3 separate regions of the Homo sapiens genome follow, and all the other regions are linked to region 3. Evidence: promoter capture Hi-C in 16 types of primary human blood cells and fetal thymus (Javierre and others, 2016). All regions are on one chromosome and are shown on one strand. Each heading gives the region's core, a stretch centred on a gene start or on the middle of the fragment in contact. The rest is flanking DNA. Distances are from core to core; before and after follow the strand shown. Region 1 overlaps LOC107986640 (a long non-coding RNA gene). Region 2 has its middle 12 kb from the start of HDDC2. Region 3 holds the start of NCOA7-AS1 (NCOA7 antisense RNA 1).

Region 1 (4,712 bases), core at 1,587-4,086, 470 kb after region 3:
CAAAGTGCTGGGATTACAGACATGAGCCACTGTGTGTGCCCAGCAGATCTCATTTATTCTTATGACTTTTAATATCATCTGAATACTAACAACTCCAACATTTATTCATTGTAATCTTCAGCTCTTCCCTAATCTCAATGGGCATATCCAAATTCTTATTTGGTATCACCTATTGGCTTATCCTCTTGGCAACTCAAATTTTATGTGGCCAATATGGGACTCTCTACTCTCACCCCGCTACCAAATCTGCACCAGCCCCAGTTTCCCTCATTGCAGTGGCTGTCCCAGGAGCATAACACCAAGCTCACCAAGTGAGGTTGCAGAAAAGTGTCCTGCAGAGGGGTGGGGGGTCTGAACTCCAACCTGCACATTTCTTAATGGACTATATGCCCTGGAGCAGGACAGCTTGCACTTGCCTAGAAGAAGGAAGCAGATCTGTGTAGGCGAGCTACAGTGCTGCCATCCACCCAGTTACCAAGGATGGAAACTTAGGGTCATCCTTGACACCAGCCACATCAACTAGCAAGTCCTGTTAATCCCACTTCATCTCCACAGCCACTACCTTAGTTCATGCCACCATCGTCTGTCATGCAGACTATCACACGCACCTCAGCAGATTCCCCACTTTCACACGGTCTCTTCTGATGCATTATTTACAAAGTAGCCAAATTAGTTGTTTAACAACAAAACCAGATGTTGTCATCTCTTTTCTTCCTTGCATAAAACCTTTTAATCCTTCCCCATTATCCTTAGAGTTGAGTTCGGTTACCTTGACTGACAAAGCCCTCCATGGTCTGGGTCTGCCCCACCTCTCTAACCTCCTCCCTTTATGTTCTCTCCTGTCCCCTTCCTCATTTATGCACCAGCAACAATGGCCTTTTGTCAGTTCTTAGAAAGGTTAAGCCACTTTATCACTTCAAGGCCATAGTACTTGCTTTTCCTCTGCCTGAAACATCCTTCCCCTGCTTTCCACAGAGCTGGCTCCTTCTCACCCTTGAGGTCTCAACTTAATCTCTCTAACAATCTAAAATGAGTCACTCTTGTAATGTCCCATTCCAACACCTTGTTTATTTTTTTCATAGAACCCCAAACAATCTCTAGTTAATACATCTATTTGTTTTTATCTGCTTTCTACACTAGAGTACAAGTTCCTGAGGACAGATCCCTTGCCTATCCTGTGTCCCATCAAAACTTCTGGGCTGAAACTTTCTGGATGGTAGCCAGCACTTAGTATGTACTTATTGAATTAGCAAATGAATTAATCTATGTTTGGAAAGATAAAGAAGCTGTCCAAGTGAGGCAGTGTTAGGGGCAGTTTCAAGTGAAAGAAACAAGTGCAGAAACTCAGGAAATAGAACGCACAGCTGTTTGAGGAGGGTCATTGGCCTGTTTCGGTAGATAAGTAAGGTTAAAATGTAAATTATGTAAATTGTAGCGGGAGAGTGATCTAAAATTGGCAGGCAGGGCCACTGTGTCTCCAACTAAATTGGAGAGAGAAATTCTGTAAGAGGCATAAGAAGGCTACCTTCCTAGAGCTAAGTGCCTCTTGATATCCATACACAGCTGAGATCTTCTGACTGGACTATCTATCAATTGGTCTTTGACACAGTTTCAAAACAGTAATAGAACACAGCAGTAGAATATTTCATGATGATGACAGCATAGTTGGAGCATTCAAGTCACTCACTCTGAGGTTAAATTTCCAAGTGTATTTTTCTCTTAGATTTAATTTCTGGTTGAGAGAACAGTTCCAAATGTAATACAGATCTATTATATGGATATAATGGTGGAATCTGTTTTTCCTGCTTCACTACTTATTTGTCAGCTAAGAATCTTGAGCAAGACAGTTAACATCTCTGACATGATCATCTTGTTTGTAGATAGGGAGGAGTTAATGATGGTATCTCAGGGATTGGGAGAGTAGCAGTATACCTATGTATATTTAAATTATCCAAAACAAGGTAAATGTGTATGGTATGCACCATATGTAAAAATGTAAAAAGGGATAAATATAGATATTTGCTTGTATTGGAATAGAATACCTCTGGAAAAATACACAATAAATTAGTGACAGTAATTGCCTCTGTGGTGGGGACTGGGGACAGAGGTGAGAGAAAAGATTTTCATAATATGCATGCCCTTTCCTACTTCCTACTCTTCTTTCTTTTCTTCACCCATCCCTGTCTTTCTTATTGCTAGTAATGGCTAATGTAAAGCATATCACTCTTTTGCATGTATCACTCTTCTCCCTGACTCTACTGCTATGTCAGAACTGGGACTTCTACTTCACAGAAAACATAGAGATTATCTTCAGATACGTCTCAGTTTTATGATCATTGTCTTAGATATCACTTGCCTTGGCATTAGATTTTACTTTGATTTCTGCCATTTCAGAGGATAAGCTCACCTGCTCTCTTTCCTCTCTTTATTTGTATATCTGTCTCTGTCCCTCTTTTTGTACATTCTCGGTGGTATTGAAGTATCCTCATATGTTTCTTATCCTTAAAAAAACCATTCCCTAGCCTAGACCTTGTTAGCTGCCATTTTCCTTCTCTTTTCCTCTTTATAACTACATTTCTTAAAGACTTTTCTGTATTTTCCCTCTCAACTTTATCATTAATAGTCACATTTTGCCCCACTGGATTTGATTTCCTGCACTCCCCTGAAACAGTGTTCCCCAAGCTCACTAAAGGCCTCTGTTGTTATTAAACCCAATGGACGTATTTTCTATCTTTATTTGACCTCTGCCCAATACATTGTCACCAAAGTCTACTTTCTTTCCGTATTTTTCTTCTGTGACTTCCATAAAGCCTTCTTCCTTTTCCTCACCCTTGTCTGAGTGGGGAGTTTATCTTACTTGTTCTCATAAAAATCTAGGGGTACATCTAGTATGTAATCATCTATGGACATGAACACGTATTTTCTCCATTAGACTGTGATATTCTGAAGACAAGAACTGTGTCATTTCGGTTTTTGAATCCTTAGTGTCTAGGACAGTGAGTTCATCAATAAATGTTGCTTTATAGAACATTAAATGAAAGAGAAAATTTTCTTCTCTAACTTTAGTTTTAATGCTAACTGTGACAGGAACAGCTTCTTGCCTCTAATATCCTTTCTCGTTCTCTTTCTTTATAATGGAAACTTAACTGTGTTCAGCTGTGAAATTACATTTCCCGGCCTCTCTGGTTTGGCCATATGATGAGGCTCAGGGTAATGGGAGGAAAATAGAAAGTACCTCCAGAAGGCACTTTAGAAAGGAGGATCATATCTTCTTTCCTTATTGTTTCTTCCACCGTGAAGTGAATAGTTACAGCTCTATCAGCCCTCTTGTGACCTTGAGAACAGAAGGCAGAACAGCAAGAAATAAGTCTAGGTCTGTGAGATTTTTGTAGGGTTCTATGGTTTGAATGTTTGTACCCTCTCAAACTTATGTTAAATTTTAATTTCCTTTGTAACAGTATTGAAAGGTGGGAACTTTAAGAGATAATTAGACTGTGGGGGCCCTGCCCTCATGAATAGATTAATGCTGTTATTTCAGAAGTGGTTTCCAAAAGGATAAGTTTGGCTCTCTGTTCTCAATCTCTCTCTCTCTTCTCTCTTTTTTCTCTTTCTTTCTCTCTCTCTTTTTTCTTTCTCTCTCTCTCTCTCTCACTTTCCTTCTCTCTCTCCCTCTCTCCTGCCCTTTCTTTCTGTCTCCCTCCCTCTCATCCCACCCTTTGCCCTTCCTCCCTAGGATGATGTAGCAAGAAGGCCCTTGCAAGGTGCCAGCCCCTCAACCTTGTACTTCCCAGCCTCCAGAACCATGAGCCAATACATTTTTGTTCATTATAAATTACTCAGTCTGTTCTATTCTGTTACAGCAGTACAAAATGGGTTAACACAAACAGTTACCACACCAAACCTGTAAAAAATACCTCTCAACTTTTAAAAAAAAAGAGAATATGCCAGGTACTATGGCACATTCCTGTAATCCCAGCTACTCAGGAAGCTGAGGCAGGAGGATGGCTTGAACCCAAGAGTTTGCTCCACTGCCCTCCAGACTGGGGGGCAGAAAGAGGCCCTGTCTCCTGTAAAAAAAAAAAAAAGAAAAAGTAAGATAATAGACATTTAAACTGTTTAAGTCACTCTAAGTAGATCGCTATTACTAACAGCTGAACTTAATTCTAACTTATGTACATCCTAAAATAAAAGTTCTTAACATAAGTTAGCACATCTTAGTGCTAGAGAATCAAGCCTTTGTTTCTCTAGTTCACTTACACCATAGGGGTAGATTTAGGTGAAACACAGAGTCTGGATGACCAGTAACATGTTTGATGTCCACAGCTTCATGGGTTTGTCCAGAGCAGTGGGCTCTTGTAGGGAAAAAGTGCGAGTTTAGCAGATTAAGATGTGGTTGTTATTTAGGAACCAATTTTTGAGGGTGAAAGTGACTTGATTAAATCTACACTAGATTATTCAAGAAGTCATTGGATTGAACAGGCCAGTTAATTCAGTCCAAATGGCTATCTTCTTTTAAATAAACCTTCAACTGGATTTTCTGCAAGTTGATAATTTGAAGACCAAATGAAATTTATTTACAAAACAGGACAATCCAACAGCACAGGAGCATGTCACTGGGGTCTAGGGAGTGCATTAGTTCTAATTATGGAGCTAACAGCAATGTCTGGAGGAACACCATGGATCTAAAAGGCCTGGACCACAATAGGTAGAGA
Region 2 (4,190 bases), core at 1,559-4,058, 510 kb after region 3:
TTTACATTATACACATTCCAGCTCTATAAGGGGGAATGATTTTTATCCTAGAATTTCTTTTTTTCTCCTTCTTCTTTTCCTCCCCCTCCTCCTCCTTCTCTGTCTCTCGCTTTAAATCTTGTTTGACCAATCCGTACAGAATATGCTTGCTTCTATAATTCTTCCTTTCCAATCCCCAACAAGGAACAATCTATTGTGTCTTACAATGAAGAAAGACAAGATGATGGGACAATGCATCCCTCTTCTCTTTTCCACGTTCCTCGCATTTTTGGTTGCTCATTTTAGCCTACATTTCAATGCACTGCACGTAGCCCAGGCTTCTGTCTTCTCATCACCTTTTCTCCTCCTCAGCTATTGGTTCTGCCTGATGGATTCAGTTCCATTTAACTACAGATGTAAATGCATTTACAGCTGTTCTCAATAGCTTTTTTTGAGCCAGTCTTTTCTTCAAGAACACAACCATCATAGTTTGAATTCTGTGGCATGTTAAGCCTGAAGATGCAAATATTGAGGGGTTGGGGGAGAAGATGCGTAATAATTGTCTTCAGATATTTGACCTGCCACCCTGTTGATGTAGGATTAAACTTCTATAGGAATATAGAGCCATTGGAGCAGTGATTCTGAAAGAGGGGCATGTGGTAAGTAGAGTCACTTGGGGACTTCCTCAGGTTATAATTCCTTTCTCTGCTGAGATGCTCATGTGCCTGCTGTAGAGTGCCACTGTTACAATGGGAATGTGATCTATTTCCTAGGAGCATTAGGATGGAAAAATTGAGAGAACTAGAGAAGTGTGCTATAAATTCCACAAGATCAGGTAAACTACATATAACTTCCTCACCTTTTTATTTGTAAGCCCTCACAAGGACTGGCACATGGCAGATGCTCAAAAAAATCTTAAAGTATTGTCTTGTTTATGAATTAAAATTTAAAACTTCAGGGAAACAAATTTTGTTTTAATATAAGGATTATCTAATAATTTGAAGCATTGTCCAAGGTGAGTTGTCATGACAGACAGAAACTGGGGGTACTGGTATATCCATGGAGAGTTGACCCGATCTATGGGACTAACAGAAGGGCAGCCAGTTTGTCCCCAGGCCAAGAGAAAACCCTAACATGTTTTATTTCATGGCCGTGAAAAGATTCATGATTCGGAGGGTATAAAGAGATGCATCCTATCATATCATCAGTTTAAATCAGGGAAACAAATCCTTATGCCTTGCTTTCTGAGGATTCTATGTTAATTTGAACTACAGTTTATTAAATTCTAAATTTCAAATTTCTATGTATAACAATTTGGGGTTTATTACTAAGAATAATACTTGTACCTTTGAAAGTCTCTGAGTACTTGGGTCTCTTTCTCTAGAGCTCTACATGAATGCTGGTACATATCAGCACAAAGATGCCTTCTGCCTGCAGACAGCAAAACCTTTTAACCTCACCTCTTTGCCGTAGTAATTTGGAAACCAAATTTGGAAAAAGCTTGATAGTGGCGCACAACAAAGTCCAACATTTTCTTGAAACATTGGAAGTCTTTTGAGGTTTTGCCCTCTTCCTCTTCCTTTTTCCTGCTCCTTTGTAATTCTAAATGAAATTCATCATCCAAGGGAATGGGGTATGGTGATAACAATTTTTGATATCAATGTATTGCACAGTCATTTGCACTGAACATCTGTGGCCTATTATAAGGAAGTCATAAAGTGGGAAGCCTCCACCAGCGTTGATGTGAGGATATTTTGGTCAAGAGCGCCACCTCTCAGCAGCGAATCAAAGTGGCCCCCTGTGGGCCAAAATCAGAGGAACCATTGGCCAGCGGAAGAGTGAATAATCTAGTCACTAGTATTTTCTCACGGCTCTTCACCCAATTACCTTTTTATTAAACAGTGAGAAAGTGCCTGAGACTGTACATCGTGTCGGTTTTAGTGGAAGCACACGGGAGGTGGATAAATCTGGGCTCTGAAAAATAGCCCTGAGTGTTCTGTGTCAATAAAAATCTACTACTAAAAGACGGCAATGGAAAATTCTTAGCTACTTATTTTAAAATGTAGATCCTTACAGAGTAAAACAAGTCTTCAGACTTTATCGAGGTTAAGAATTATTCCTTAGCATTTTAGAGATCTTAGAGTTCTTCTAAGCCCTTTTGTTATAGGTGAGGAATGTGGGGTTCAGAGTGGTGCAATGACTTCTAAGACTCCCCTATTGACTCTCCAGCCACTGACTGCTGCCCTCAGGCCCTTTCTTTTGAACTCTTTTTTTTGGATTCCCAGGATTTTACAGCTTAGAGGGTACCAGAAAATTGAGACTAAATAAAAACTAATTGTGATATCTTAGACTGTATCTGAATAGAGATTTTATCTTTATACATTTGTTGCATGTGGCTAGTGCAAATAAAGTACAAATCTCTCTATCCATAACACACACAAAACACAGATGTTGATTTCTGGATAAACTTATGTAAATCACTACACATGTGTCTGAATTTATTCATGCAAAAATTTTGAAAAAGCAGTTTTAGATTCTCCTTTATAGGGAGCTTTAAAGTGATTTAAAATATACACCTGTACGTATTAATATGATTTGATGTTCATACGATATTTTCTAAGTAACTTGTCTTTGTTTTTTTTCCTGAGACAGGATCTCACTCTGTCACCCAGGCTGGAGTACAGTGGTGCGATCTCAACTTACTGCAACCTCCGCCTCCCGGTTCAAGCGATTCGCCTGCCTCTGCCTTGTGAGTAGCTGGGACTACAGGCATGCACCACCATGCGCAGCTAATTTTTGTATTTTTAGTGGAGATGGGGTTTTATCATGTTAGCCAGGCTGGTCTCAAACTCATAACCTCAAGTGATCCACCCACCTCGGCCTCCCAGTGCTGGGATTACAGGTGTGAGCCACTGCACCTGGCCACTTGCCTAACTTTTAACAGAGACTTTTGGAGATAATGTCATGTTCTGAGTGACATGGAGGAAATTTTACCTCATTTTTTTTTTTTTTTTTTTTTTTTTTTTACTGTGAAGTGGTATTGCTGTCACAGGAAAAAGGCAGTAGGCTAAGGATGAGAACACTTAGGTTCAAGTTCAGGGTCAGCCACTTAGTAGCTCTGTGGTTTAACCCAAGTCACTTAAACTCTCCTGGGGTGTGTGTGTCTGTGTCTGTGTGTGTGCATGTTAGAGGGCGGGTGTGGTAATAAGAAAATCTAAACTGCCTTTCTCATTGGATTGTTCTTAGCATCAAATTCAATAATGTACTTGAAACTTCTTTGAAACATAAATCAAGTTTAAGTTAGTATTACAATGGCCAGAGCATTTGCTCACCACCATGTAGCATGCCAAGTGGAGGCAGTGTATTTAAAGGTTAAAAGCCAAGTTCTTTGATCTGCCAGTTTGGATGGAATCCCAGCTTCACCACTCACTGGCTGTGTGACCTCTGGTGAGTGCTGAACCTGCCTAAGTTCAACATCCTGATGGAATACGAATGTAGTATTACACATATCTTGTTGGGTTGTTATAAGTACAGTGATGCATGCAAGACATGAAGTGGGAGGTCAAGCCCATAACACGTCAATGTTAGTTTGTCTTCACATTATGAGATTCCTGGCTCTTGCTTTTCCTGGGGTTCTGGGGGATAATCAGTCTAGGAGAGTTTGGCCTGTTAGCCTTTGAAACGTTTACTTAGATCTCCTTTACTTATTTACAGAGCTAAGACGTCACCTCAAATAACATAGGACAAATTAATGTGTCATGAAACAAAATCATCTTCAGCAAAGATTCAAGAGTTTGAGGGCTAAACCCGAGAATATATATTTTTTATTCTAACTTCCTCACTCTCATCTTCAGAGCTATGTCCCTTTCAGAAAAATTCTACTTCAAGAGAAGATTTGGTTTCAGGATGTCTCCTGGACTGGAGGCATGTACCTAGTAAGTGTCCCCAATAATTTCAGACCCTTTATAAACTTGATGGATTTCATATATAACTCATTGTTTTGTATTACAAATAATTTGGTTCACTTACTCTATTTTCCCTTTCCAATTTTGAACTTCACGAAGGGTTAGACTTTTTCTGTCTTTTCTCACTATACCTAATATTTAAGTCACATGAATGATTCAAAGATCATTAATGCTCTGACATTATGTAAGCTTAGACTCCTGTTGTGTCTCACTTACCTTCTCATTGGGCATCTTTGAAAAGTTTGC
Region 3 (4,148 bases), core at 853-3,352:
GACCCTTTCACCTCATGGGCTTAGGGTCCAACTGTTAAATAAAAGACTGTTAGGTTTCTCAAGGCCCTTTGACTATATAACTCCACTTCATTATATCCCAGAACCTAACTAACTGTGCTTATAGCAAAGTATCTTTGGGAAATGATATGGTTCCAATTTGGATTGTCGTTAAGTGTTCCTTCTTCCCTGATCTGAACAACAGGAGCAGCTCATGGGCTGAAAGTGGGAGGTCAAGATGAAAATTAGGTGAAGATGTAGGTAGACACAGAAGTAAGATCAGGAATGATTTGTTATTAAAGGAATGTGTGAGTACTCACTGTATCAGGTACTGTTCGTATATTACCCTCAATCTTCATAGCCATCTTGGTTTCATTTTACTTGAACACGAAAGCTACAAAGTGTACTATTCACACAACAGAGAAAGCTATACAGTGGGTTCAAATCTCCTCTGCCATGGAAAAGAGAATAAGGGGACCAGCTGTTCAGCTCTGGCCCTCCTTGCTGGGTCCCATTTGAGCTTCTCTCCAGTTCTGGCTGGTTGGGATGTCTCCTTCTTCAAAAGCATCTTGTTAGTTGGTTATTTTTAGCAACATTTAACAACTGAAGAAATGTAAGGTAAAGGAAGCTTAGAAGACTTGCCAGAGGTTATACACTGGAGTGAACTGCAAACACTAGGTGTTCTGCTTGTGGGTCAGAGGTTCAAGGGTGAAGAATTGCCAGGGCAGAGGCTGGAGATGGGAGCTAAGAAATGTTCTACACTTTGCATCCTTTGTCACTGAGAATGATGACAGAGGTGGTGCTGGCTCCTACTGCTGCTCTGAAAGGCTGGGTTAAGAGGAAAGCGGAGGTGGGAGCAGCAGTTCTGCTTTTCATGACAACCAGGGAATAGGGGAGGTGGGAGCCAACAAGGGACCTACATGAACACCCAGTCTGTGTCTTCGTCTATATTACTCACTGTTTACTCCCAGGCTCTCACACCTTATCAGAGGGGAAAAGTAAACCTCCCACAAAACACCATTTGGTTCAACTACAGATGTATTTTGGATATCTTCAATCAACGCTTGATCCTGAAAAAATGCTTTCAAAGAATCTTCAACCAATGGCATACAAGGACCTACTCGGAAATCACAAAAGCCAAATAATGTCAAGCAAGTGTGTAAGAAGACAGCCCTGTATGGCAATACTAAAGAAAATTTTGCATTCTAACTACAAGGGGAAGGAAGAGTCAGCAGGGGTGTAACAAATGACACATGATAGTCACCCCAGAGGATAGCATAAATTGTACACAGTACAAATAGTACAGAAAGTATAATTTGCTTTAGTAATTCAGTTTTTCATTTGGTTTTCAAGACCTGTCAGGGATCAAGAAATTAATATAGACATATACTAATTTTGCATATATAAATTATTTGCAAAACCATTTGTGAAAAAGTTTCACAAATCATTCAATCTAGATTTAACAACTGTTATAAAACTATCCTGAAGCACCTGAAAACCAGTTGGACCAGGGTCAGAAAATCCAAAAAATTCATCAGGTCTTATCCAGAATTACTCTATCTAGTAGCAGTATTAATCCACCCCTCTATTTAGAGTTACACAGGCATATTTCAAGATAAATTATAAGAAAGGAAAGACTGGGTGACCCTCAAATCACTAATTTCAATCCAAAATTATTAAAATAGGGTATTTTAAACTCTATTTTGATGTTAAAGAGCGAAACGTCAACAAAACAGGTTTGGCAAAGGACTATTTATCAAACACAGTCACACAACGATTATGAAACCACATGATAAGATAGCACACAAAGAAAACATTGGCTATTTAACTACTCAGGAGGAAAAACTAGGTGTTCCTAGTTTTTCCTAGGTGGAAGGGGGAAGCAGGCTAAAAAGCAGTTTTTAGGGTTTCAGATATGTAATTGTGGCAGCAGGCACAGCATCAGGGTAAATCTTCCTTTTGACTTCCTCAGAACACCAGTTGAGATTTATGTAAGGTGGTATAATTTAGTTTAGAGAAAACTGAGATTGCATCAGTTTGGCCTCACCCTTGGCCTGACATTTTATCCTTCTCTCCAGAGATCTTGCTTGGACTGCCCTTAAGTACGCTGCTCCAGAGAACTCTGCTCTACATTGTCAGAAACCAGCTTTCAAGTAAGTTCTGTTGCTAGTTCCACATGGTAATTCCACAGTTAAGTCAGAAGGCATTTGAAAAGATGTATAACTTTGGATGGCTCTTTTCTGATTATAGGCTGAAGGGGGTTCTTTTCTCTTTGGTTTGCCTTTTGCTTTTAATAGCTTGACCATTTCTGGCTTCCACTGCATTGTAAGAGCTAAACTACAGGTTTGTCAGTCAGTGTTTCTCTCTCTGTCTCTTTCTCTCTCTCCCTGCTCCTACCCCCTCTTCTCTCCATTCTCCTCTCTCCATCTCTCTCATTTCCTAGTTACAAATCATGTTGTCTTACTGTCTTAAGAGCATCACTGATTTCATCCTTGTGCCACTGTCCCTATGCTCCCAAGATCACATTTCAGCATTTTAGGATACGTTTTTTGTTTCATTTTTAGAATACTTTTCAGAAGAGGTCATGATAAGCAAGACAATTTTACATTTCTGAGTTGAAAAAACTGTGCTGCTCTTCCAGAACAGTTTTGGTTTGTATTCTCAGTTTCAGGGGCTCCCCTGACTCTACATTTTAGGAACAAGAAGAGGTTAACATTGAGCAGGTTGTTCATGAACCGGCAGTTACCTTTACTACAGGAATCACTTTGGATTCAGGCTGAGAAGGCACTATAGCTCTTAAAATCACTATGTAGGGCAAGTGAAGAAGAAAGAAAAGAAAGAAGAAGAAAGTAAGGAGGAGGAGGAAGGAGGAGGTGGGAGAAAGAAGGAAGGGGGAGAAGCGGGAAGGGGGAGGAGGAAGAAGAGGAGGAAGAGGAGCAGGAAGAGGAGCAGGAAGAAAGGGAGGAGGTGAGGAAGGGAGACGGGGAGGAAGGGGAGGAGAAGCATGACCACCATTTTGACCTAAACTCATATCTTATCCACAAATAAATTCAAAATGGATCACAGACTTAAATATAAAACATAATGCTATAAAATTTTCAGAAAAGAAAAACAGGAGAGAATCTTCAGAACATACAGCTAGGCAAAGAGATCTTAGAATTCAGACCAAAAGCACAATTCATAAAAGGAGAAACTGATAAATTGAACCACATCAAAATTAAAACCTTTTGCTCTGCAACTCTGTTAACTGGATGAAAAGACAAACTACAGTCCGGGAGAAAATATTTGCAAATCACATATCCAACAAAAGACTAGAATGTGTACAATTCAACAGTAAAAACCTAAACAATTCAATTAGAAAATGGGCAAAAGATAGGAAAGGAGATGCCACTAAAGAAGATACACTATGGCTAATAATAAGCACATGAAAATGTTAAACTTCACTAACCATTAAGGAAATACAAATTAAAACCATAATGAGATATCACTACATACTTATCAGAATAGCTAAGATAAAAATAAAAAATATTGACACCACCAAATGACAATGCAGACAAACTGGATTACTCAGACTTTGCTGATGGGAATGTCAAATGTTACAACCATTCCAGAAAAGAGTATTGCACTTTTTTATAAAACTAAAAATACACTTATCTTTTGACCCAGCAATTGCACTCTCAGACAATTATCTCAGGGAAATGAAAACTCATGCTCATACAAAAACTTGTACATAAATGATTGTAGCATCTAGCATCTTTGTTCATAAATAGCCCAAACTGGAAACAACCTAAATGCCCTTCAATGGGTAAATGACTAAAAAGCTGTGATTCATCCATACTATGGAATGCTACTGTGCAATAAAAAGGAACAAACTATCGATACATGCAACAGCTTTGAGGGATGTCAAGGGAGTAATGCTGAAGGGAAGAAAAAGCTAAATGCCAAAGGTTACATACTATATGATTCCATTCACCTAGTATTCTTGAAATGACAAATTATAGTGGTTGTCAGAGGAGGCAGGCAGATGGAAGGAGTGAGTAGGGATACAAAAAGGTAGCATGTGGGATCCTTTTAATGCAACTGTTCTGTATCTTGACTGATGGTGACCACAGAAATCTACATGTGATATAACTGCATGGAACTAAATACAC

The links. Contacts are between HindIII fragments. The CHiCAGO score rates a contact against its expected background, and 5 or more counts as called.
Region 1: a fragment that was not itself captured here is called in contact with the fragment with the promoter of NCOA7-AS1 in region 3 in 1 of 17 cell types (total B cells); the score reaches 5.2 in total B cells.
Region 2: a contact is called between a fragment that was not itself captured here and the fragment with the promoter of NCOA7-AS1 in region 3, in 15 of 17 cell types (naive B cells, total CD4 T cells, total B cells and 12 more). The highest score is 19.4, in naive B cells.

The regions. Positions count from the first base shown.
Region 1 is chr6:125,351,502-125,356,213 of GRCh38, reverse strand. LOC107986640 (a long non-coding RNA gene) reads right to left here. Exons shown (of 3, transcript XR_001744328.3): 3 at 135-4,067. Among named protein-coding and RNA genes, the nearest start is that of HDDC2, 52 kb to the right of the region's middle. The HindIII fragment of the contact is 9,886 bases long and covers 1-4,712 here.
Region 2 is chr6:125,311,862-125,316,051 of GRCh38, reverse strand. No RefSeq gene overlaps it. Among named protein-coding and RNA genes, the nearest start is that of HDDC2, 12 kb to the right of the region's middle. The HindIII fragment of the contact is 2,654 bases long and covers 1,482-4,135 here.
Region 3 is chr6:125,816,812-125,820,959 of GRCh38, reverse strand. NCOA7-AS1 (NCOA7 antisense RNA 1) reads left to right here and starts at 2,102. Exons shown (of 3, transcript NR_126386.1): 1 at 2,102-2,150. The region is part of intron 2 of NCOA7 (nuclear receptor coactivator 7); the gene reads right to left. RefSeq lists an enhancer at 2,376-2,877. The HindIII fragment of the contact is 4,548 bases long and covers 628-4,148 here.